Linked DNA regions of Homo sapiens: regions 1, 2, 4, 5, 6 and 7 are each linked to region 3. The links are contacts of gene promoters, found by promoter capture Hi-C in blood cells and fetal thymus (Javierre and others, 2016). All regions are on one chromosome and are shown on one strand. Each heading gives the region's core, a stretch centred on a gene start or on the middle of the fragment in contact. The rest is flanking DNA. Distances are from core to core; before and after follow the strand shown.

What was found. The method cuts DNA at HindIII sites, captures the fragments that hold promoters and counts their contacts. A CHiCAGO score of 5 or more calls a contact.
Region 1: a fragment that was not itself captured here is called in contact with the fragment with the promoter of LINC02453 in region 3 in 1 of 17 cell types (total CD4 T cells); the score reaches 9.8 in total CD4 T cells.
Region 2: a contact is called between a fragment that was not itself captured here and the fragment with the promoter of LINC02453 in region 3, in 2 of 17 cell types (naive CD8 T cells and total B cells). The highest score is 7.7, in naive CD8 T cells.
Region 4: a fragment that was not itself captured here is called in contact with the fragment with the promoter of LINC02453 in region 3 in 5 of 17 cell types (naive CD8 T cells, non-activated CD4 T cells, M0 macrophages and 2 more); the score reaches 7.8 in naive CD8 T cells.
Region 5: a contact is called between a fragment that was not itself captured here and the fragment with the promoter of LINC02453 in region 3, in 1 of 17 cell types (total CD4 T cells). The highest score is 6.7, in total CD4 T cells.
Region 6: a fragment that was not itself captured here is called in contact with the fragment with the promoter of LINC02453 in region 3 in 3 of 17 cell types (non-activated CD4 T cells, naive CD8 T cells and total CD8 T cells); the score reaches 8.2 in non-activated CD4 T cells.
Region 7: a fragment that was not itself captured here is called in contact with the fragment with the promoter of LINC02453 in region 3 in 4 of 17 cell types (naive CD8 T cells, non-activated CD4 T cells, total CD4 T cells and 1 more); the score reaches 16.6 in naive CD8 T cells.

What each region holds. Positions count from the first base shown.
Region 1 is chr12:96,596,146-96,599,710 of GRCh38, forward strand. It overlaps CFAP54 (cilia and flagella associated protein 54), which reads left to right. Exons shown (of 68, transcript NM_001306084.2): 26 at 2,500-2,622. Among named protein-coding and RNA genes, the nearest start is that of CFAP54, 110 kb to the left of the region's middle. The HindIII fragment of the contact is 277 bases long and covers 2,135-2,411 here.
Region 2 is chr12:96,563,581-96,567,113 of GRCh38, forward strand. It overlaps CFAP54 (cilia and flagella associated protein 54), which reads left to right. Exons shown (of 68, transcript NM_001306084.2): 18 at 888-974; 19 at 1,064-1,185. Among named protein-coding and RNA genes, the nearest start is that of CFAP54, 76 kb to the left of the region's middle. The HindIII fragment of the contact is 3,726 bases long and covers 1-3,533 here.
Region 3 is chr12:98,502,225-98,505,483 of GRCh38, forward strand. It overlaps LINC02453 (long intergenic non-protein coding RNA 2453), which reads right to left and starts at 1,631. Exons shown (of 4, transcript NR_038383.1): 1 at 1,536-1,631; 2 at 359-388. TRD-GTC1-1 (tRNA-Asp (anticodon GTC) 1-1) reads left to right here and starts at 1,279; the gene lies at 1,279-1,350. It overlaps TRW-CCA4-1 (tRNA-Trp (anticodon CCA) 4-1), which reads left to right and starts at 2,028; the gene lies at 2,028-2,099. RefSeq lists enhancers at 1,369-1,678, 1,689-1,988. The HindIII fragment of the contact is 12,452 bases long and covers 1-3,101 here.
Region 4 is chr12:96,525,474-96,528,838 of GRCh38, forward strand. CFAP54 (cilia and flagella associated protein 54) reads left to right here. Exons shown (of 68, transcript NM_001306084.2): 9 at 1,773-1,971. Among named protein-coding and RNA genes, the nearest start is that of CFAP54, 38 kb to the left of the region's middle. The HindIII fragment of the contact is 2,091 bases long and covers 564-2,654 here.
Region 5 is chr12:96,886,541-96,890,014 of GRCh38, forward strand. No RefSeq gene overlaps it. Among named protein-coding and RNA genes, the nearest start is that of NEDD1, 19 kb to the right of the region's middle. The HindIII fragment of the contact is 3,834 bases long and covers 103-3,474 here.
Region 6 is chr12:96,720,112-96,723,669 of GRCh38, forward strand. It overlaps CFAP54 (cilia and flagella associated protein 54), which reads left to right. Exons shown (of 68, transcript NM_001306084.2): 50 at 294-454. Among named protein-coding and RNA genes, the nearest start is that of NEDD1, 190 kb to the right of the region's middle. RefSeq lists enhancers at 25-204, 225-334. The HindIII fragment of the contact is 3,587 bases long and covers 1-3,374 here.
Region 7 is chr12:96,579,716-96,583,215 of GRCh38, forward strand. It overlaps CFAP54 (cilia and flagella associated protein 54), which reads left to right. Exons shown (of 68, transcript NM_001306084.2): 21 at 882-974; 22 at 1,205-1,390. Among named protein-coding and RNA genes, the nearest start is that of CFAP54, 92 kb to the left of the region's middle. The HindIII fragment of the contact is 1,849 bases long and covers 1,299-3,147 here.

The DNA.
Region 1 (3,565 bases), core at 1,023-3,522, 1.9 Mb before region 3:
CGGATAGAAAAGAAAACATTAGCTATATCAATGCATACCTTTTAATATGTGTTAGCTTAGCAAAGATACCACATTGGGAACAGCAGCTGCTCAATTGGCTGAGTTTACGGTAGTCCACTGTTACTTTCTAGAATCCCACTGATTCAGGATACCTTTGGCTAGAGAATGGATTATAGCTATGGGAAGTCTTAGGAAAGAAGTCTCTAATTGAATTGTATTGTTTGGAATTGGAAAAGATCAGTAGAACAGAGGGTAGTTTCCAGAAATAGGCCTCAATATATATGAGAATGTAATATATGACAGAGTTGTCATTCCCATTCAGTGGAAAGAGAATGGACATTTTTACTAAATGATGGTAAAATGTCTAGATATTCATCTGAGAGAAAATAGAGTTTGACCCCTATTTGTACCATGTACAAAAAGTCCAGATTTATCAAAGACTTAAGTGTAAAATAAAGCAAAAACTTTAGGAAAAATTTCCCAGGAGATGACGTGTGCAGTCCGGGGTTTGGGGGGAAACATTTCTAACCAAGACTGAACTTCTAACAGCAACAAAGAACCTATGTGTAACAAAAAGGACTATAACAAAGATAGAAGAACATTTACAGATTTGGAAAAAAAATATCTCCAAATGCGACAGAGGGCAAGTATATATACATGTATAACAAAAAGTCTTACAAACTGACAATAACCTAATAGAAAAATAGGCACAGGATATGAATAAGCAGTTCACAGGAGAGCAAATCCAAGTGAGTGAGAAACATATGAAAAGATGCTCAAATTCTAAATACTCATAGAAATTCACATTAAATTAACAATGTAATATCACTGGCAGGATTGAAAAGATTTGCTGGTGAAGATGTGGGGCAATTGCATTCTCATTCATACATGGGGGAAATGTGAATTGTTACAAGCATTTGAATTTTGGTAAAGTAATTTTAATTTAAATTAAATTAAATCTAATTTTAAGCAAGATTAAAAACAAATATACCTGACACGGTAGTCCCTCTGCTAGTAATTTATCCTGTAGAATAAAATTTTAATAAAATTAAAAATACATTTATCTGACACAACAATTCTTCTGTTAGTAATTTATCTTATAGAATAAAACCTCCATTTGAAATAATGTCACTCCTAGTTCCACCTCTTGGTTCCTGGACCTGAGGAACCTACTGGGACACAGTGTTATGTACTGTCATTGGTTTAGAATGTATACTGTGTTCTGGAGGATGGTATCTCATCTTCACTGGGTATCATCTCAAAGCCGGCATCTTGATTGCTAATCATAGTTGGCAACTGAGCATGTAAAAGGGTATTTACTGTGACATTCTTGGTGTTGGCAAAAAAGCTGGTGACAAAGAGAAGTAACAGTACCCCCAGATTGTACAACCATGAAAATGTGTACCATGAAGTCCTAGAAAAGGCTGAGTAAATAATGGCTGATCCACACCAAATAATATTATGCAGCCATTAGAAACAAACAATGAATTAGAGCTATACCTGTAGACTTACAGCATTTCTCACCAGACATGGTTGTCCAAAAACCATGTCTGGTGAGAAATGTTCACAACCAAAGATATGGTTGAAGGAAAAAATACACACTTCAGAAAAGTATTTATAAATCCCATTTTGTAAAACAACAACCCTCCTAGGTACATTATGTTTTTATACACATGTATGTATTTATATTTATATGAGCTTCGGGAAAACTCCAAAACTACTAGGGTGTTCACATGATTTAGGGATATGATATGGTAGCATGGGAGAGGCTGATTAGGGTGGGGAGGAATTTAAAAAGTCTTAGAGATGAGTGTACTGTAACAATAGTAACAGTATTGTTAGAATGAGAGCTTGAAGCAATTAATGTGCCCCCAAAGAACCAACATTCATATATTAATTTGTCCTTTGGGTTAATCTAAATGGTGAATGATTGATGCAATCTCACACTACCTTTGAAAAGCTATTCGTCTAGCTCTTGATCAAATTTAAGATCATATAATACGAAGCAAGGAGAATAGGAAGTAAGTACCAATATTAGTTGATTTCCTGAGATATGAATGTTTGGTTTTAATTTTAAAGGAAACTATTATTTCAAGTACCTGGAATCACTATGTAATATTTAATATGCCATATAAGCTTCCATTTGGTTTTTCAAGTTCCTTCTATACCTGGATGTGATAGTTTTTCAAATACATGTCACATTCTGACTATACCTTTTATGATACTTATCAAAATATGCTTTGTTTTATAGTCATTTGTGTTTTATTTTATTCTTTCCACTGATTTTCAAGTTGCTGTAGGTGAAGGACTAATCTCAAAATTGAATGTATCAACTTTATCTCAGTGTACTCTCCTTTATTCCTAATAAACAATTTATCAATAATTATTGATAACAAAATTTTATGTCTTAAAGCTTGCATTATTTGAATGGAACATTTTCTAATGAAATGAGTAAGGATGACATTTTAAAACAAAAATCATTGTGATTCTAATTTTTAGATCCTGATAAAGTGTATAGTGGTTTTGCAAGGACTACCAAGTATTGTCTGCTCGAAGAAACATACTGCGAGCTTTGAAAGTATACAACACATGATAGCTTGTTGTATTTTCTACATAACAAAGGTATTTATCTCATTCTTTATCTAGTATTATAATATTTAGGAGCGATGATGATTTGGAAAGTCTACTTTTAATCACAATAAGAACACTTTTAAAAATGGCACCCTAAAAGCATTTTTAGATCAAAAGCAAATGTAGAGGCCAAACATTATAGAATAGCAATCTGTTGTTGAACTTTTTGATGAAACTGTGGTGCTTCACAAACTAAAACTTGATGTTATTGAAATAGCATTAGTATATCTATCTATATATTTATTATTATACTTTAAGTTCTAGGCTACATGTGCACAACGTGCAGGTTTGTTACATAGGTATACATATGCCATGTTGGTTTGCTGCACCCATCAACTCATCATTTACATTAGGTATTTCTCCTAATACTATCCCTCCCCCAGCCCCCCACCCCCCAATAAGCCCTGATGTGTGATGTTCCCCTTCCTGTGTCAATGTGTTCTCATTGTTCAGCTCCCACTTATGAGTGAGACCATATGGTGTTTGGTTTTCTGTCCTTGTGATATTTTGCTGAGAATGATGGTTTCCAGCTTCATCCATGTCCCTGCAAAGGACATGAACTCATCCTTTTTTATGGCTGCATAGTATTCCATGGTGTATATGTGCCACATGTTCTTTATCCAGTCTATTATTGATGGACATTTGGGTTGGTTCCAAGTGTTTGCTATCGTGAATAGTGCCACAATAAACATACATGTGCATGTGTCTTTATAGCAGAATGATTTCGAATCCTTTGGATATATACCCAATAATGGGATCACTGGGTCAAATGGTATTTCTAGTTCTAGATCCTTGAGGAATTGCCACACTGTCTTCCACAATGGTTGAACTAATTTACACTCCCATCAACAGTGTAAAAACGTTGTATTTCTCCACACCTTCTCCAGGATCTGCTGTTTCCTGACTTTTTAATGATCGCCATTCTAACTGGTGT
Region 2 (3,533 bases), core at 547-3,046, 1.9 Mb before region 3:
CTATCTCCATGCAGATGTTTCCTTACCCTTTGCCACTGCAGATGCCTTCTATTCTTCAATGGTGTATGTTAACATCTTTTCACGAATCAATTACTATCACATGGTGGCTCATGTGCATTAGCACAAATAATTAAAACTCAGTAAAAGGGGTTTATTGTAAGGTTACTATAGCTACCCTCGCATATCTCCAAGGACCAAAATACTACCAGGTCTCTTAAGCACCAGACCTGAAAATCAAGAATCAGTGCTACAGTTTCCATCTCCCTGGGCTAGTATAGTTGTATATAGTTGTATCCTTTTTTCCCCTCATCCACATTCCTGTCTTTACTGAACCACCATGATGGTCAGTCCCAATTGTATACCAGTATCAACAACTGGCAAGTTCATGTTTTAGTTCAAAATCTTGAGACAGGCTCTGATTTCATCAGCCACAGCTGGAAGATAGTGGAGGTCTTCGTGTGTTACCCAGAGCTCTTAAAGGGACCTTGGATGAAACAGTTTTTCTAGAAGGGGTGTTGAGGACAGAGTTTGACAGCTTATTGGTATTGGTATCAGGACTTGCCATCTGTACTTCTGTGAAAAGGTAAAGTCAACAGAAGTAGGTTGGATTCTATCAATCCTCAGGATGACTTTATTCAAGATGAGATAGAAAATCAAATATTTTTATAATTTGGAATTTCTTCTGTCCTGAGGTATACTGTGGCAAATAAAAGAGGATTTGATAAAACTGCATTATAGTAGATTTATATGAATTTTTATCTATTAATGAAAAAAATGACATGACAGAGGAAGCAGTAGCTTTATGAATAGTTACTCCTTAGTATTTAAAAAATATTTCCTCTCTTGGATACATACTTAATTGTTATGACAGTCGTCTTCTTCTTCAGTTTTGCAGACTCCAACTGTTAGCAAAGATATTTCTACCAAGGGTCCGGAAAAGTTAAAACAATCTGGAAGCACTGATTGTTTTACAGGTAATTAAAATTGGGATAACTGGTATTTCCAAAAAATTTGGAAGATAGTTTTTAATCTCACCTTTTTGGTAAAATGTTTGTTTTTATAGAATTAAATATAATGAATAAAATAAAGAAGAATACATTATCCAAAGCAATTTACTTAATGCAGAAAGCTCTTTTAATATTCGAGAAAGATGCAACTTCTACATCTTCATGGGAACTTTTGATGGTAACAGTATTTCATTTCTTCTTTTAATCCTGACATAAAATTTCTGTTAAAATGAATGATTCATTTCCTTTATTAAAAATAATGTGTTGCCCTTAACATTTAATTATGAACTTTCAGATTCACTATATATAATTCATCCTGACCAGGGGAACTAATTCGTACCTCCAGTTCTGAATTCTGAAATGAGAGATTCTCTTTTTATCAGAACTTCATGCAATCTACATGAGAAGACAAATAAAATCAGAAGGACTCAAAATGAGGGAAATTATAGAATTGGAGTGACACTTTACCAGCTTAATGTATTCTTTACAATGGAATTAAAATTCTTAAAGTCCATTGGCTGAGGTACCTTCTCTCTTAGATAGATACTGCTAATTTATGGACCAATCCCCTTGTTGATATTTTTAATCGGGTCTCACTCTGGCCTGGAAATTCTTCTGCCTTCTTGCTAATTCATTATATGTTGATTTTATGTGTTTATTTTTTGAGACAGGGTCTCACTCTGTCAACTAGGCTGGAATGCAGTGGCGCAGTCCTAGATCACTGCAGCTTTGAACTCCTGGGTTTAAATGGTCCTACCACCTCAGCCTTCCAGTGGGTGGGACTACAGACATGCCACCATGCCAGAATATTAAAAAAAATTTTTTTTGGTAGAGTCAGACCCTTAGTATGCTGGCATTGGCTGAGTGAATGATGTATGAAGATGTACAGAATAATGCTATGTCTTGGCTGATAAGAGAAGGAAAAAAGTAGGTCAAAGCTAGGAGGGGGATATGGAGCTAAAGGGGTTTAATGAGAAAATTTAGCATAATAGTATGCTAAAAATGAAGTGCCAGAACAAAGAGAAATTGAAGATAATAAGAGGGAAAGGTTAATACACAGAGCCAAGGCCTATAGAGGATGATTTTGAAAGCACAGATAAAGGGATTCATCTTCAATGATGGGTGGGCTGCAGGGCAGACACCTCATCTTTTGATACAGAAGGGAAGGAGGAACAGACAGATGTAGATAAGAAAAGTTTGTTGGTGTGAAGGCAGGGAGTTGAGTTGATGCCTTTTGATATGCTTTGACTGTGTCCCTACCCAAATCTCATCTTAAATTGTAGTTCCCATAATCCCTATGTGTTGTGGGAGGGACGAGGTGGAGATAATTGAATCACGGGGGAGGTTTCCTCCATCCTGTTCTCATGAAAGTGAGTTAGTTCTCGCAAGATCTGATAGTTTAATAAAAGGCTTGCCCCTTCACTGGGCACTCATTCTCTCTCCTGCTGACATGTGAAGAGGATGTGTTTGCTTCCTCTTCTGCCATGATTGTAACTTTCCCAAGGCCTACCCAGCCATGCAAAACTGTGAGCCTCTTTTAAATCTCTTTTCTTTATAAATTACCCAGTCTCGGGTATGTCTTTATTAGCAGTGTGAGAACAAACTAATACACCTTCTTACCTCTGTCGGATGCAGTGGGAGGCAAGGATATCTGCCATCAATGGAGCATGAGGGTGGAAAATTGAACTGGGAAAGTAAAGATAATGTGGAGAGTGGGGAGGAATGGATGAGGGAGTTGACTCCAAGTAAAGGGACTGGCCAGCATCACTAAGTTCTAGCTGAAGTTGGAGACCAAGAATTTTTAGACATCTTGATCCGTATGGTGGTATGACATTATCCTGATGTGGTGTTCTTAATGACAGCAGAATATTTGTGACAGCAGACATTTGTGGAGGATTAGATTTTTTTTAAAAAAAATGAAGGTATGAGTTAAAAGTTTATGGCTTTAAAAACGTGGATACAGATTGAGTAGGGAGGGAAGGCATGAAGGCATTTAAAGACTTGGTGTCTATGGAAATATCAAGAGACTGGACATCTTTATGAGGTCAGGTCAAGGACCAGAAAATGAGGGTCTGAGGGAGCTAGAAGGATAGGTGTTTGAGGTTAGAAAGTAGAATACTGAAATTCAAGATTCCTGGTATGTAGCACTTACTTGTTATCTGTCAATCTATTCATCCATCTAACAAATAATTTTGATCCATTTCGCAATTATGTATTGGAAGTTCACTATGTGCCTGGTAGTATGCTGAGTATAGAAGGGGGGAATCTTTTATTTATTCAACAAATATTGATTGATTTACCTTCTTTTTGTGGTTCTGCCTTTGTGGTCCCTGGATTTATTCATATAAAAATCCAGTCTGTGGAAACATAGACAAGTAAATATATGCTTTAATTGCAAGAGGGCTAGGGAAAATTAACAGGGGAGTACCTAACTCAATAGTGGGGAATGTTTAAGGAAACATCCAGGAGAAATCACGTGAAGTTGAGTGCTGAAAGACAGATGGCTTGAATTTGAATACTGAAAGA
Region 3 (3,259 bases), core at 381-2,880:
AGAAACACAAATTGAACGGGCGTGTTTGTGGGCACCTGTAATCCCAGCTACTCGGGAGGCTGAGACAGGAGAATCGCTTGAACCCGGGGGACGGAGGTGGTAGTGAGCCAAGATCGCACCACTGCACTCCAGCCTGGGCAACAAGAGTGAAACTCCGTCTCAAAAAAAAAAGTTTACATATAAGGCTCTCTTAGTATCCCTGGGAAGAGGGTTCATCCTGTCTATGAACGGGTTTAGGATGACACAAATTATCAAATTATCCGATTAGTGCACTTTCCTAACCCATATGTTTAATCAGTGGCACATCCTGGTTTTGAATTATTTAAACGCATTATTATTTAGCCATTCACATACTTACGTTTGTCACTTCCAGTTAAACTGTAGCCACCTACAGAGAGCGAAACAGAAGTCGGCTGATAAAATTTTGATAAAATTTCATTTGCCCGCAGCTGGTCATTTCATTGGGCGCTTTTGTGTTACAAAAGTGTGTGAATTGGCCGGGCGCGGTGGCTCACGCCTGTAAATCCCAGCACTTTGGGAGGCCGAGGCAGGTGGATCACTAAAGGTCACGAGTTCGAGACCAGTCTGGCCAACATGGTGAACCCTCCCCCCCCCCACACACACACACACACCCCGCGTCTCTAGTAAAATACAAAAATTAGCCAGGCATGGTGGTGCGCGCCTGTAATCCCAGCCACTCGAGAGGCTGAGGCGGGAGAATCACTTGAGCCTTGGAGGTGGAGGTTGTAGTGAGCCCAGATCGCAACACTGCACTCCAGCCTAGGGGACAGAGCGAGACTTCCTCTCAAAAAAAAAAGACTTATGAATTGTTTGAAGAGGCACGAGACCGTGGCAACCCTAACTGTCCCCGACATCTGGCAGCCATATGCTATCCTTGAACTTGAACTTCAGAGTGAAAGTATAAATTTGTAAGGGGAAGGCTCAGCCGCAAGTCACATACCAGTGGTCAGTTAAAAAAAAAAAACTCAGGACGGCAACCTAAATCATTTAGAACGCGTCAAGAGCCTCGGAAAAACTATTTTCACACACTTCTCTAGCACTAACATGGGAAGCGCGTTTCCTTCACATATTCCACACCTTTTATTCTTCCCACCAACATCAAGAATACAAAGCGCCCAGAGAGGACAATAAGCCTAAGCAGCGGCTCCAAGAGACCGGACTTTCGTACTTCCCGGGGGCAGGCGGAAGGTTACGGAGCGCTGGAAGGATCTTACTGCTCCTTGAAGGGCTGTCTGAGAAAATACACAGCCTAACGACTCCTCGTTAGTATAGTGGTTAGTATCCCCGCCTGTCACGCGGGAGACCGGGGTTCAATTCCCCGACGGGGAGGTGTGTAGCTGCACTTTTTTGGCGACAGTTATTATTTTCTGTATCATTCAATGACAGGACACTGCTGTTAAACATAATATGCTAAACCAGCTCCCTTAAGTGCACAACCCTGTCTTCAAAATGGTGACTTTTAACCTTAATGCCCACCATGAAGTGAAAGCCTCCCCTGAGAGAAAATGCCTTACATTGTTTGCAGGAAGGGAGGAAAGGGAAAAAGAAAACGCTCTGAAGGCCTCTGCCCTTGCCTCCAGCCGCCATCTTGCGAAGGCCTGCGCCGGCTTAGTGGCGCCCCGCCAGATTACAACTCGAGGTCGCGAACTCAGCGCGCGGAACCTGTTGGGGGAGGGGAGAGAGGGCGGAGTCTCGCGACTAACGGGGCGGGGGCAGGGCGGGTAAGAACGGAAATCATTTGGTAAAGAAAAGGAAGGGCCAATTTCCTTTGATCCTGGAGACCCGACTAAACGGGAAGCCCCGTTCTCCCGCTTCCGCTGGTTACGTCCCAGCCTTGGTTAGAGGACTAGCAGTCAGGAAAGTTTGGACGCTGAAGGAATCGGTCTCCTGGTCCGACAGATACTGGGTGGAGGGGCAGAGAGTAAATGGAAGAGAAAGACTGGTACCCCTGGAAGAAACGCCATTTACTGGTGTCCTAAGAAACTGCGCGAGCCACAGCCCAGCAGGACCTCGTGGCGCAACGGTAGCGCGTCTGACTCCAGATCAGAAGGCTGCGTGTTCGAATCACGTCGGGGTCAAACTTTTTTTTTTTCCTCCTGTATTTTAAACTACCGACTACTAGAAGCCGAGGTGTATTCCTGCCGCCAATTTTCTTGAATGTTAGAATTAAGTTTTCCTCTTTCAGGTATTATGATACTAATCCTTGGTTTGCAGGAAGATATGATTTACTCTATATCGAAGAGCCTCAAGGCTGATGTTTTTATCATTTGGCCTTTTAAAGTGAGTTTTTTTGTCACTTAACATGCATAATGTGTAAAGAGGTGGACTATTACTGCTGTGCATTAGTGGGTGTATCAGTCCACTAGTCTATCACAGGAAGTGTACAATATACTGTACAAGCTGTTTTTTCCAAACAGTTTTAGGCTGTTTGCCTTTTGAAAGAGAGTACAATAGTGTACAATTTCTAATTTTGAATATTATGCTAATCAAGTGTCTTAGCCCTTACCATGTGCCAACACTGTGAACAACCTCACAATGTGTGACTATTATCCCACTTTTACAAATGTGGCTGTGGCTCACAGGGTTAGTGACCTGCCAAGGGTCACCCAAGATTCTGAACCAGGTGAGGGACTCTGGATCCCTCTTTATAAATACTTTATAATAAAGGTGGAAACAAACAGTTGAAAGAATGTGTGACTGCCAGGCTCAGTGGCTTACACCTGTAATCCTAGCACTTTGGAAGGCCAAAGTGGGTGGATCACGAGGTCAGGAGTTCAAGACCAGCCTGACCAACATGGTGAAACCCCATTTCTACTGAAAATACAAAAATTAGCTGGGCATGGTGGGGTGCACCTGTAATCCCAGCTACTCCGGAGGCTGAGGCAGAAGAATTGATTGAACCCGGGAGGCGGAGGTTGCAGTGAGCCTGGGTGACCAAGCAAGACTCCTTCTGGAGGTGGGTGGCGGGGAGGAATGTGGGAAAAGCTGTTGGACTGGGCGCCTTTTATGTTTTCACCGATTATGCGAGTGATGACTAGTCACCACTTTTGACTATTAATCTCTTTAATAGCAGGAAGCAAAGCTTGCTCGTTCACATTTGCAAGCTCCAGGACTCTTAGTACTAAATAGTGCCCTACACGTAAGTGTCAAATATTTGTTGAACAGAAAATGAATAGCAAGACTATGAGAAATTAATAGTTTTAGATTTTGATGATATGTTTTGTAAAATTCCTGAGGT
Region 4 (3,365 bases), core at 359-2,858, 2.0 Mb before region 3:
ATTCTTTTTGCTGGTTTTTCTATGATGTTTTTATAAATAATTTCATTCTTTTATTCATTTGGGTTTTACCATTTCATTTTGAATACTTCTAATTATTATAAAGTTAATTATGCTGTTTCAATATGTATTTTTAAAAGCTCTGTTTTAACCTAAATAAAAATCTTAGGAAAAACTCTTACCTCTGTAAGAAAAGAGAAGGTAGGGCATGAAGTTCAAGTTTTGTTGAAGTTTTTTTGAGATGGAGTCTCACTCTGTCACCTAGGCTGTAGTGCAATGGCATGATCTTGGCTCACTGCAACCTCTGCCTCCTGGGTTCAAGCGATTATTCTGCCTCAGCCTCCCAAGTAACTGGGACTACAGGCGCGCGCCACCATGCCTGGCTAATTTGTGTATTTTTAGTAGAGATGAGGTTTCACCATATTGGCCAGGCTGGTCTCGAACTCCTGACCTTGTGATCCACCCGGCCTCCCAAAGTGCTGGGATTACAGGCGTGAGCCGCCGCACCCAGCCCCTTGTTGAAATTTTTAACATGTCAGTTGATCTATGGATTGAAAAGGTACACAAGCTTATGAGTAGGGAAGCTAGTGCTTGCGGGAAAGTAGTTCAAGGCAACTTTATCCCTGCTTTTGTTTTTCTGTCTTTCTGACTTTGCCCTAAGAAGAGAAATAAAAGCAAGGGAATTATGAGGAAATCTTCCAGCTGGATAAGGATTCTAGAAAAGCCTACTAAAACTACGGTTCTTATTTACTGGCAAACTAAATGCAGAGAACAGGTCATTTGATGGAGAGAAGAATGAAGTGTGGCAGGAAGCATGTGCAGGAAGTGCAGTCATTTTGGGCCAGTACAAAGCAGAATGACTGGGAACCCACAGCAGGTTCTAAACAGTCACTAGCCTGTTAGCATAAAGCTGATCAATTCTTTCTTAGAGTTAATTACCACAAACCTTGTTATTTATACTACTAAATACTGTTTCAAATTTTGGCTTGAAGACCTTCTGCATGAGAATATCCTGTGGTGCTTATTAAAAGTGTCCTAAACACTTATTAAAAGTGTCCAGACACACAAAATCTCTGGAAATTTGGTCTTGAATCTACAAAGCACCCCTGAGTGATTCTTAGGTAACCAAAGTTTGAATATCAGTTCCGAAGGCTATAATGAAGATACTATAAAGCATATGGAGATATATGCTTGCTTAATAAGCAAACCATAATAAACAACCTTTTAATGCTGCCTTGGAAACACAAGCATATGAAGAAACAACAAAGTCTTTGATGTAATGGCAGCATGATATCTCTAATGAAATCTGGAGTGACATCTCAAAAAACCATAAAAGCAGGTATCTAATTGTTAGACCAACTGCTCTCTGTTTTAGCATTGTAAGCATGCCTTACTTTTCTTTGCCTTATAACAGGTTTTTTTTTTTTTTTTTTTTTTTGCCTGAGACAGGGTCTCACTCTGTCACCCAGGCTGGAGTGCAGTGGCATGACCTTAGCTTGCTGCAGCCTCTACCTCCCTGGGCTCAGGTGATCCTCCCACCTCAGCCTCCCAAGTAGCTGGGACTACAAGCACATTCCAACATGCCTGGCCAATTCTGAAATTTTTTTGTTGAAATGGGGGTCTCACTGTGTTGCCCAGGTGGTCTTGAACTCCTTGGGTCAAGCAATCCTCCTGCCTTGGCCTCCCAAAGTGTTGGGATTATAGGCATGAGCCACTGCGCCCACAATATAATAGCTTTAACAAATGGACTGAACTTTTTTTTTTCTCAATTTCAGTTATCATGGCCACGAACTGTCACAGAGCGGCTACTGGATGAGATGTTTGATAGCACTGCATCCCAGTTTCTGGCTGTCTTGGAAGCTCTTTCTGATTCAAATAGGCGAATACTGCAAACTGGACCCATTGTTACAGATGAAGTGGAGATTCATGATGTTGTCTCAGAATTGTTTATGGCAGGAAAAGAACTTTTGATAAGTAAATAAGATGTTAAGATATTGTTTTATGATAGAATGATACACATGAGTAACAAAAATTTTAACATGGTAGTCCATACATAGGAAACTGATAACATTTATATTGTTTTTTTTTTTTTGTTTGGTTGTTTGTTTGTTTTTGAGATAAGGTCTCTCTTTGTCACCCAGACTGGAGTGCAGTGGCGTGATCATGGCTCACATTGCAGCATCAACTTCCTGGGCTCAAGTGATCCTCCCTTCTTAGCCTCCCAAGTAGCTGGGACTACAGGTGCATGCCACCACACCTGGCTAATTTTTGTATTTTTTGTAGAGACGGGGTCTCACCGTGTTTCCCAGTCTGGTCTCGACCTCCTGGGACAAGCAGTCCACCCATCTCAGCCTCCTAAAGTGCTGGAATTACAGGTGTGAGCCACTGTGCCAAGCTGATATAATTTATATTGATCTTGAATTCAGAAACCTTGCTAAGGTCAATTGATATTTCAAATAATGTATTAGTAGATTTTTGGGGGGACTTGTTTTGTATATACAGTCATCTATGAATGACTTATTTCTGTCCAATCCTTAATCTTTTAATTTCTCTTTTCTTGCATTTCTTGATGGTTGCACTGGCTAGGATCTCCAATAACACATGGGAAGAAGTGGTGATAGCAGACTCCTTTGTCTCATTTTTTTCCTCAGTTGGAAAGCTTTCAACATTTTGCCATTATTTGAGATATCTACAGAATAATTTTTATAGATACCCTTTTGCAGATCACAGATGTTTCTTGTATTCCTGGTTTGCTAAGTGTTTTTTTTTGTTGTTGTTTTTAATCTTGAATAGTTTAATTTTAGCAAAAGCTTTCTCTGAATTTATTGAGATTTACTGAGTCGATCAAATGGCTTTCTCATTTATTTCTATTAATGTGGTTGATTTTATGGATTGCTTATTTCTGCTTCTCTGTTGAAGGGAGAGACTTTTCTTTCTTGTAATGTTATTTTTAGGTTTCGCTCACAAGGTCATATTAGCCTCATAAAATGAGTTGAGAAGTATGCCCTCTTTCTCCATTATCTGTAAATGTTTGTGTCATATTGGTGTTATTTCTTCCTACATGTTTAGTTGAATTTTCTGGTGCAGCCATCTGTACCTGGAATTTTTTGTATGGCAATATTTTAAATGATGAATTCAATTTCCTCCATAGATATAAAATTTTTCAGATTTTCTTTTCAGTATTGGTCAGTTTGCTTTCTCTCTTATTTCATCAATTTCACCAGGGGTCCACCAGTTTCATTAGTCTTTGCAAAGAAACAATATTTGACCTTGTTGATCTTCCCTATTGTATGTCCATTTTCCATATTATTGATTTTTGCTCTTCATTACTTCCTTTATTATACTTTCTTGGGTTTGCTTTACTGATT
Region 5 (3,474 bases), core at 770-3,269, 1.6 Mb before region 3:
AGGATCTCAGCTTTATGCAAAGACCTCAATTCTAACTTGCAGCCTCTGTTGTACCAGGGCTCAAGGCACTAAAACCTAGGCCCTTAGGTTAACAAAACCAAAAGCTTCATCCAGTGAAGCTGCAGTACTAGCTCATAAGGTCACCACCTTGGATTTTATTTCTTCCTTTCTTTCATTGGGGATTTCTTTTTCTTTCTTACAAGCTCAGCTATAAGTTAAAGGAATATTTGTTATATTTCTCCAGTGTTTCTAGGAGTTCATAGTGTGCAAATGAGGGAATTAACTAGCCAACAATATAGCCAGAAAATACATCTCCAGTATGATCCCATTGGATCAACCAGGGTGCAAACAAGAGGCACATAAAGTGTATATTCAAATGCTTAAAAGTTACAAAGGAAGCTCTAATTATTTTTAACTAAAATGTATTCGGTCCTCCTCACTGGACAAATGCACTTCATAATGACCTGGGAGGCCAGATTATAATGTCAGATTCTCACATTCCTTGGTGTTCTGCAGAGGACTAGGCTACATGAGGAGAGACGGCCCCCAGTTGCGGCCTGTTTTCTTTCTCTTTTTACCACTGGCTCCTTCCAGCACTGTGAGGCCTACACATGCATGTGGACCTCCCACCATTCTCCCAATGTCAAACTCTGCCCAAACCCTTGGCAAACAGCCACCCTTGGCTACTCCTCAGGCCTCAGAGCTGTGTATACAAATAGCAAGTCTGGCCTCTGCAGGGAAAATCTAAGAATCCTGTGGCAGTCTGGGCAGGGAATTCCAGGAATTTAGGTACCTGAGTTTAAAAAAGGCAGAGTGTGGGCTCCAGGCAGGCCAGTCCCCTTAGACCTATGGACCTGGTTCTGTGGGGAGGAGAGCAGTGGCCAGAACACAGCCTTCTAAAGCACTGTGCCTCGGGCCAGACACTCTGTTATCTGGTTCTCAGGGTGGCCCCACAACCAACTGCCAAAATATTTCCGCTTCTGCTACCTGTACTGTAAGTTGGAACTTCCCTAAGTTATTTTTTACTTGAGCTATTGCTATAGCTTCCTAATTGATATCCTGGCCACCAGTGTCACTGCTGGTCATTAGAAACTGGTTCCAAATCCTAGCCTGACTACTTATTAGCAGTATAACTTTGAGCAAGTGACTTAACCTTTTTGGAACATTCACTTGCTCAGCAAAATTGCTCCTAAGTTTCAAACTCACAGAAACTATGAGAGATAAATGTTTATGGTTGTTTTGAGCCATTACAGTTTGGAGTAACTTGTTATACATAAATGAATAACTAATGTATTATCACCCCACCCCACTTTTGAAATCATGGTATAATACACATTATTCCAGAGGGGCTTTCTGAAACCTAATAGAATAGAAAACAATAGTAAAGGTCATTAACTAGAAATATTTTAAAGCATTCTACTTGTTCTATTGGTTCCTTAATAGTACAAGCACCAATTATTTTAAGACAATGACTGAAGAAACCTTACAGGCTAACTAAACTGGACACATGTCATGTCAGGTCCCTCTCTCATGGCATATGTGCAGATTCTACATGGAGGGGGACGCTGTGCTGTGTCCTCCACTCCAGCACTAAGCCCTTCTAACCCTACAGTAGTGTGGTTCCAACACTCCTTAAAGTCTATCACTAAGTCATAGAGACCTTACTCTTCTTGATATTTATTTGGTAACATTGAAGAATAGGCTGGTTTGGTTGGTCAAACATTATATTTAACACTTAACCAGCATTACTGGCTGGGTGCAGTGGCTCAAGCCTGTAATCCCAGAACTTTGGGAGGCTGAGGCAGGCAGATCACAAGGTCAGGAGTTCGAGACCAGCCTGTCCAACATGGTGAAACCCTGTCTCTACTAAAAATACAAAAATCAGCCGGCTACACTGGAGGCTGAGGCAGGAGAATTGCTTGAACCCGGAGGCAGAGGTTGCAGTGAGCCGAGATTGCAATGCTGCACTCCAGCCTGGGTGACAGAGCAAGACTCTGTCTCAAAAAATAATAATAAAATAAAAATAAAAATAAGTAATAAAATAAAAATATTTAACCAGGATTATGAAATTCAAACTGCCTATTGAACCTGGCTAACAACTAAGATAGACATGATCATAATTGTTGTTTACAATGTAGAGAATACTAATTTACTATATTTCTATTCTGAGTCACTAAAATCTGTTTCTAATTTCTTTAGTTTTGTCATTTATATCAGCGGGCCCCAGCGTTTTTGGCACCAGGGACCAGTTTCATGGAAGACTATTTTTCCATGGACCAGGGTGGGGATGGTCTCAGAATGAAACTGCTCCACCTCAGATCATCAGGCATTAGATCCTCATAAGGAGTGTGCAACCTGGATTCCTCGCATGCACAGTTCACAATTGGGTTCACGCTTCTCTGAGAATCTAATGCCATGGATCTGACAGGAAATGGAGCTCAGGTGGAAATGCTTGCTCCTCTTCCACTCACCTCCTACTGTGCAGCCTGGTTCCTAACAGGCCGTGGACCAATACCGGTCCACAGCCTGGGGGTTGGGAACCCTTGATTTATATGTTCTTTTGCTCACTCATTCAGAGTGTATTTATGAAGTATTTTCTATGTGCTAGTTCCAATAGACAGAACAGACTAAATAAGACATTTGCCCTAGAGTCTAATGAAAAAGAGAGAATTTATAGTCTAATAGAAGATAAGTCTAGGCACGGTGGCTCATGACTAATCCCAGCACTTTGGGAAGCTGAGGCAGGAGGATTGCTTGAGTCCAGGAGTTTGAGACAAGCCTGGGCAACATAGCGAGACCTTGTTCTATTAAAACTAAAAAATATATATTAAAACAGAAAGGTGCTTTTAGAAATATAAAACCTTTGCATGAAGGGGAAGCATGTATGTGTGCATGTGTGTATATACACACATAGGTCTATTCATCCTCCAGGTGAAGAGGGAGTGCTATAGTTTTTAAAAAGTACTGAAGTAGAACATGTGCAGAGAATTGCACAAATCCTGAGTGCATGGCTCAATGAATTTATTAGAATTGAAATCACTTAATAACCAGCACTCAGATAAAAAAACAGAATTTTACTAGCACTCAAGAATCCCTTTTCTTGTCTACACTTTGGCAGAGGGGAGGAAATATATCAAACAACTTTTTTTTTCTCTTTCAACAATCTGCTTAACGCATACCTTCCTGCATCGTGAGTCACTCAGACCATTGTTAGTCAGCCTTCAAAAATAGTTTCTCTGAGACAATTCTCTCCCTCCTCACAAGCTAAACAGTGATTAACGTCCAGGTGAACCAGAATAAAAATTTCCAGCTGTCAAATTAACAGCCAGAAAGCATTTTTTTTCTTCACAAAAGATGTGTCTAGACTCGTGAAAATTAGAAAGAAAAAATATTCATTAGTTCATCACGTAAAGGGTTATTCCCTCTAACATAATTCCTAGGTTTTCTCTAGTTTAAAATGAGTTTGACTGTTCT
Region 6 (3,558 bases), core at 331-2,830, 1.8 Mb before region 3:
AGTGTTTGCAAGAACTTTATAGAACATAACTACTGTGAATAGTAAGCACCAGCTGTGCACACAAGAAAAGGTCACTGTCATGCATGCTGACGCTTGCTTTCACTTTCCTTTTCGTTTTCTGTTGCCTTTTTCCTTTTTGCTGAACTCTCTTCTCTGGTAATTAGATACCAAGTTCCTTTTTGGTCTTCCATTCATTGTTACTTTTCAGTACATGAAAAATATTTGCTAAAGAAGAAAGAGACAGTATTTGTATTATTTCTGAACTCACGTGATGTATGGTATCCTTTCCTTAGTCGATGTTACTGATGGAAGCTGAGGACAGGCTAAACTTCCTTCTGTCCGAGGTGGAACAGAAGACCCTGTCTCAGTGCTCCGCTGGCGAGCTGGAGATTGTGGTGGAGGCCCGGCTTCAGCTGGCTGCAGTTGCTCTGCAGAGGCACCGGGCGGCATACAGGTGCGTCTCTCCATGCACAGGGGAGGGATACCTTTGAAGAGAGTTCCTTCACCCTAGTTTATTAAATAGACTTAAATTTTATGTAAGTTTTAGAAATTCCTATATCCATAGTATGCTTGCTTTTTATTATTCAGGGAAGTTTTCATACATGATTTCACTTAAAATTATAGCTCTGGCTGGGTGTGGTGGCTCATGCCTGTAATCCCAGCACTTTGGGAGGCTGAGGTGGGCAGATCACTTGAGGCCAGGAGTTGGAGACCAGGCTGGCCAACACGAAGAAACCCTGTCTCTACTAAAATATGAAAATTAACCAGGCTTTGTGGCGGCACATGTAATCCCAGCTACTCGGGAGGCTAAGGCAGGAGAATCACTTGAGCCCGGGAGGCAGAGGTTGCAGTGAGCTGAGATTGCCCCTCTGTACTCCAGCCTGGATGACAGAGCAAGACTCTGTCTCAAAAAAAAAAAAAATTACAGTTCTCAATAAAGCAATTATTTTATGAAGGCACACAGCTGGGTTGTTTAATTTCATATATAGAATGAACAAATTAACAATGCTTTGATTTTTTTATACATTTAATTTACTTTTTAAAAAGACTAAACCTTTTTACGAATAAAAGCTATGGAGTGTTTTCTTTTTTTCTAAAACATTGACTTAAAATATTAAAAACAAACCTATTTTGAAAAAGTAAGTTTCTGCATCATATTGCACTGAACTGTTTAATAAACTGTTGTAGGTAGCTAATTATTTAAATGTGCTGCAATTGTTAGTGTCAGCTCTTTCATTTAGTTTGTTCATCGATTTATTTATTTAGTCAACCAGTATCTGTTAACTCTCTCACTGCCAGGCTCTGATCTAGGCAGTGAAGATATAAAGATGCATAGAATACAATTTCTGTATCCATATGCTCACAGATATATAAGCAGTCAGGTAGAGTAGTAAAAATAATATTACAGCGCTTTTTTCATATTTAATAATATGGACATCCACATTCAAGAGTTTCTCCATGCCATTTGTGATAAACACTTCTATCATGAGGTCCTCTGACACATTCAATAGTGATTCATCTAATAATGCATACATTTCTTATCATTCATTAATTCGTTTAAAAAATAAGTTTGTGCACTTTCAATATGCTAGGCACTGTTCTAAGCTCCTGGCAAGTATCAGTGGCCCAATACTCATATATACAGTCTAAACAAAATATATAACAATATTGTGCAAAATCTTGCCCTATATTCTAATAGATAATAAACATGCTGGCAATAAACTATAAACACAAGTAAATTACAGAGTGTGGGCAAAAATGATAAGTGCTATGGAGAATATAAGGAGTAGAGGTTGGAGGGGGACGAGTTACCATTTTAAAATCGTGTGGTTGTAATAAGTGTGACTCCATTTTGATGTTCAATGGCTGACAGCTTTCAAGCCCGACCACTGTCCTTCTCTTTCTGCCCCTGACCTGAGCAAGCAGATAAGAAAGCCCATCTGTTCCCTCCTTTGGTGTTAGTGGAAAGTTCAAACCATGTAAGTCCTGGCCCATGTGCAGGAACTCTTACCTCAGTGCCACCCACCAACCACCATAAAACTCCAAGCCAGTCTCTTTTCCTTACTTTCTCCATACATTTTCCCACCTGTTTGGGAACCTGCTCTGATCTTCTTGCAAGGTCTCTTTATGTGAGCAGTACCCCATTTCATACCCTCTTGACGTGTGTGTATCTGGGATCAGTCGTGACATCTGAACCACATTTTGGGTGGTCAGGGCAGGCTTCATTGATGAGGTGACATCTGAACAAAGTACTTAAATGAGAGAATTATCCATGCAAATATCTATAGACAAAGTGTTACAGGCCATGGAGACATGCCTGATACATGTTTGAGGGACACCTCCAGGCCTCTTGTGGCTGGGGTGGAGTGAGTGAGGGGCAGAGTTGCAAGGGAGATCGGCAAAGAGGTAACTGGTGGACAAGGAGATTACATAAGACCTTTTGGCCAGGGTAAAGACTGACTTTGAGTGAAGTGGGGAGTCATTGTGGAGTTTTGAGCAGAGGAGTGACATGATCTGATTTTCATTGTAAAGGGTTGGCTCTTGCTGCTAGTGTGAGAATTGATTATAAGAGGAAAAGGGTGTGAAAGCAAGGAGATGAATTAAGGAGGCTATTATAATAACAGAAATATGGTGGTGTTTCTTACCAGTGTGATAGCACTGGAGGTAATGAGAAGTATTTGGATTCTGAGTAAATTTTGAAGGTAGAGCCATTCTGTTTTACAGATATTGGATGTAAGTTGTGAGAAAAAGAGAGGAGTCAAAAAAGAAGTGGTCATTAACTGAAATGGGGAGGTTGTAGGGGTGCAGCTTATTTAGGGGAAACACCAGGAATTAAAATTTGGATGTATGTAGTTTGAGATGCCCTTAGATGTACAATTGAAGATGTCAAGTATTCTGAGAGTCTTTAGAATATAGACAGTGTTATTCAAATCTTCCCAGCATAAAGAAAAGATAAATGTGTAAGGTGATGGATATACCAATCACTGCTATTTAATTATTACACATTATGTAATGTATCAAAATATTTTATGTACCCTGGAAGTATATATGTCTATTAAGCATCAATAAAAATACAATGATAAGAATAATACAAATTTAAAAGTACAGTATAACAACTAAAAAAAGTAAAGACAGAATTTTAATACTGGATGAGCTCCGTTAGGGGGTATAAATAGATGGAAGAGAGAAAAGGACCAAGGATCAAGCCCTGAGTTTTGTACTCCAACTTTACGAGACTGGGGAGAAAATGAGGAACCAGAAAGGGGACTGAGAAGAAGTGACCAGTAAGATAGAAGAAAACCAAGAGATTATGGAACCCTGAAAGCCAAGTGAAGAAAGTGGTTGAGGAGAATGGAGTGACCAACTGTGCCACAAGCTTCTGATAGATTGAGTAAGGTAAGGATAGAGAGTTGACCCCTGGATTTAGCATGGAGGCCAATGGTGACCTTCACAGGAGTAACTTTAGAAGATGCTTGGGAAAGATTATGTTTAGAGTTGTTTATGAGAGAATGGGAAGAGAGAAACTGGAGCCCACAAATAAAGATGATTCTTTTTTTT
Region 7 (3,500 bases), core at 973-3,472, 1.9 Mb before region 3:
GCTCCCTTTTTCTCTGTAGGGAGAATAGTTCATTCCAATAATGAATCTTCATTATCTTGACACCTCGGCGAAAGGATCATTGTCTAACTATTTAATCAAGGTTAAATTTTGTTGTTTCTGTGGGATTTATATTTTATGTTTGATTTATGTCTAATGTTTTTATTTAAAATATAAAATTAAACTAAATATAAAAATTATCAAAGTAATATCATGTTTCAGAAAATGTATAAATTGGAGAAAAAAATTGGCCCATTATTTACCTATCATCTTACCATTTTATCATCCAAATCCTACTGCTGTTCTTATTTAGGGGTGTTTTCTTCTAGGCTTTTTCATATGTATTTTTATATTTTATTTAAAATAATATATTTTAGTATCTTGCTTCTCTTTCCACTTGCTTTTTTTGTCATACATTATCATGTAAAATATGAAAATCACTTGAGTGTTAATCTTTTTTTTTACATCAAGACAAAGTCATTTTAGGAGTCAACCCTGCCACTATCTGTCTGATCTTAGGCAAAGTTATTTAACATCTCTGCATCTCCATTTCCTGTGAAGCAAAATGACAATAGTAATCCCATCTCATAGAGTTGTGCATATTAGAAAATATCTGTAAATTTCCTAACAGTACTTAGCAGTAGGAACTGTTCAATTAATGGTGGTTAAAATAATTAATAATGAATAATATCTTAGTCTTAATTGCCTCAGTAAACTAGCTAAGGTTACTTTTACTCTTTAAAGATTAAACCTAAGTATATTTGTAAACTTGGATTTCATGTTTTAAAACCTGAATCATTACATTTTTATTTAGAAAAGTATTTTTTTTGTTACATTGATATAAAAGAATGCCTTTTAAACAGGCTCATTTTTCTCGTCGGCAGGTCTCCTGGTACTGCATTTTGGGTTGCAAAGCAGAAGGAAGTTATGGAAAAGTACGGCTAAACAATAATCATCTCCCAAATTCAGGAGAAGCGGTACGTCAAATTAAACATCAGGAAATCTTACTGAAGCCTTTAATGATAATTAAATTTTTAAATGAAGTCATTGTTTTGGTGAATCTCTCTAATTTCCACCTGAATCATAACTAAAATCCAACAATGAAAGAAAAAGGTTTTTTTTTAATAGAAGGTTTACTTAATTGTATTTTAAAAGTCATGTTATTTTAATTTTTCATGTATAACTTGAAATATATTTTTCTTAATAGATACCAGCTGACGGTAAAAGTGTTTTTGAAGTGAAAGGTTTAGAAACCAATGAAAAGTATGTATTTGCAGTTGCTGCCTATTCTAACAACGGAAAGCTTGTCGGTGGTGCTATTGGGGAGACAACTAAACCAATTCTGGTTTATCCCCCTCTTTCTACTATTACTGCTCGGATGTTCCTGACACAGGTAGAAAAGATTTCTGCTAATTTTTTCCACTGTGTTTTTTTTTCCATTAAGCAGTTATGAAGTAATTTCTGATGGAAATAAAAATCACAGCAGATATTCTAAAGCTCCTATAACACATATTATCCATTACTACAGTTTTGTCTCATAAAATATGAATCATTCCTTCTCTTATTAGTAAATTTGCTTTTTGACAATAACATTTTTTCCCCTGGATTACAAATGTAACACATATATATTAATTTTAGAAATGCTGGAAAACACTGAAATGCATAAAGAAGAAAATAAATGTTATCTGTTATCCTATCATCCAGAGTAGCAGAGTTCTTACCCTGGGGCAATTTTGTCAATGTCTAGAGAAATTTTCAGTTGTCACAAACTAGAGGGGTGCTACTGGCATCTAGTGAGTAGAGGCCAGGGAGGCTGATAAACATCCTACAATGTACCGGATAGCCCGCATAGCAAAGAATTATCCAGCATAAAATGTCAGTGGTGTCAAGATTGAGAAACCCTAATCCAGAGATATCCTTTTATTTTTGTGTATCTATCTGCCTATTTATCTATCTAATTAATATATATATATATATACATGCACACACACGTGTATATGAATTTATGTACAATATATAATTTAAATCATAGTATACATATTATTTTACATCCTGATATTTTCACTTAACATATAATTGACATTGCTGTATTCCATTAAGTATTCTTCCAAAACATAATTTTTAATGGTTCCATGGCATTGAATCTTATGGATATATAATAGTTTGTTAGTAATTCTCCATTGCTAAACATCTAGATACTTTCCAGTCTTTTGCTATTATAAACAAAGCTATGATGCCCAACTTTGTATATAAATCTTTACCTACATCCATGATTACTTTCTTAGGGTAAATTTATAAAAGTAAAACTTCTGGATCAGTAGAGGCAGAGAGACCTGAGTTCAAATTCCAGCTTCTCACACTATCACAGCCATGTGATAGTGGACAAGTAATTTTCATCTGTGAAGCAAGAGTAGCAGTAGTAGCTACTTCCCAGAGGTATTATGAGTATTAAATGGAATTATGCCTGTCAAATATTATCACACAGTAGGCATTGAATAAATAGTATTGTTTTTAGTTAGGGATATACTCATGAATTAATGTTTTTTGTCGAAATAGTTGTTGCCTGACTTAAAACATGTCATCAGTGAAGAGGATGCTAGGAAGAGTGACTCATTGACATAGGTCTCAAGTATCTAATTTTAAGCCTATTCTTGACTGTAGAGCTGATGGCTTTTCTAAATTTTGTCATATTTCTATTCTATTTTCTCTTAATAGTTGATTAGTAATATAAGATAAGATCTTAGTGGCATTTTATATAGCATATTTTTCAAAGAAAATTAAATTGAGAGAATTACTAGGATTTGTCTAGTATTGGTTTAGCGTGTCATACTGGCTCATGGTTTTCTGATGTTTTGGTATCTTTGGAATCTAATATATTCCCTAATTTGCAGTGATGGAGTTATTGTGAGGAACTGAATATTTCATCAAGGCCTAATTTTTCTCCAGGGAGTGGTTTGACTCTTGGGCTTAATTTGGTAGAACTTTCATTGAAAGTTAATAAAACTAAGTCAGAGCTATACTGCTGGGATAATGAGTAGTGTCATGAAGTAATGACCTGTGTTTCTTTACTGACACTATATTTGCAGTTCTGTAGTTTATTTATGATGGTTTATGTGCATTCTGTCTCATAATGTTAAGAGGCTAAAGCAAAGCTTTCTCACTTATTAAACCTCCTTAATTTATAACTTAAGTTTAAGCTTTTAAGTTTCAGCAAGTTAATGTACCTCTATTTTGTAAGTGCAATCTAATTTTCATGAGAGTGGTTAGTTTCTAGTTTCAGGACAGTTCTTTTCTTTAAAACATATTATTATAAATATTTGATAGTAAAGCATGGAGACGTTTCACTAAATGCCTGTGATTAACTTGGCTTTTGGGACTTTAGGTTGTACTTTTTACTCAGCATTATTCTGTAAATATTAATAAAATCAAGTGAATCTCTACTAGGCTTTCCCTAAATGTAGAAGGCTATTAGTTTAGTGTATCTGGAAATTTTTTTTTGAGGA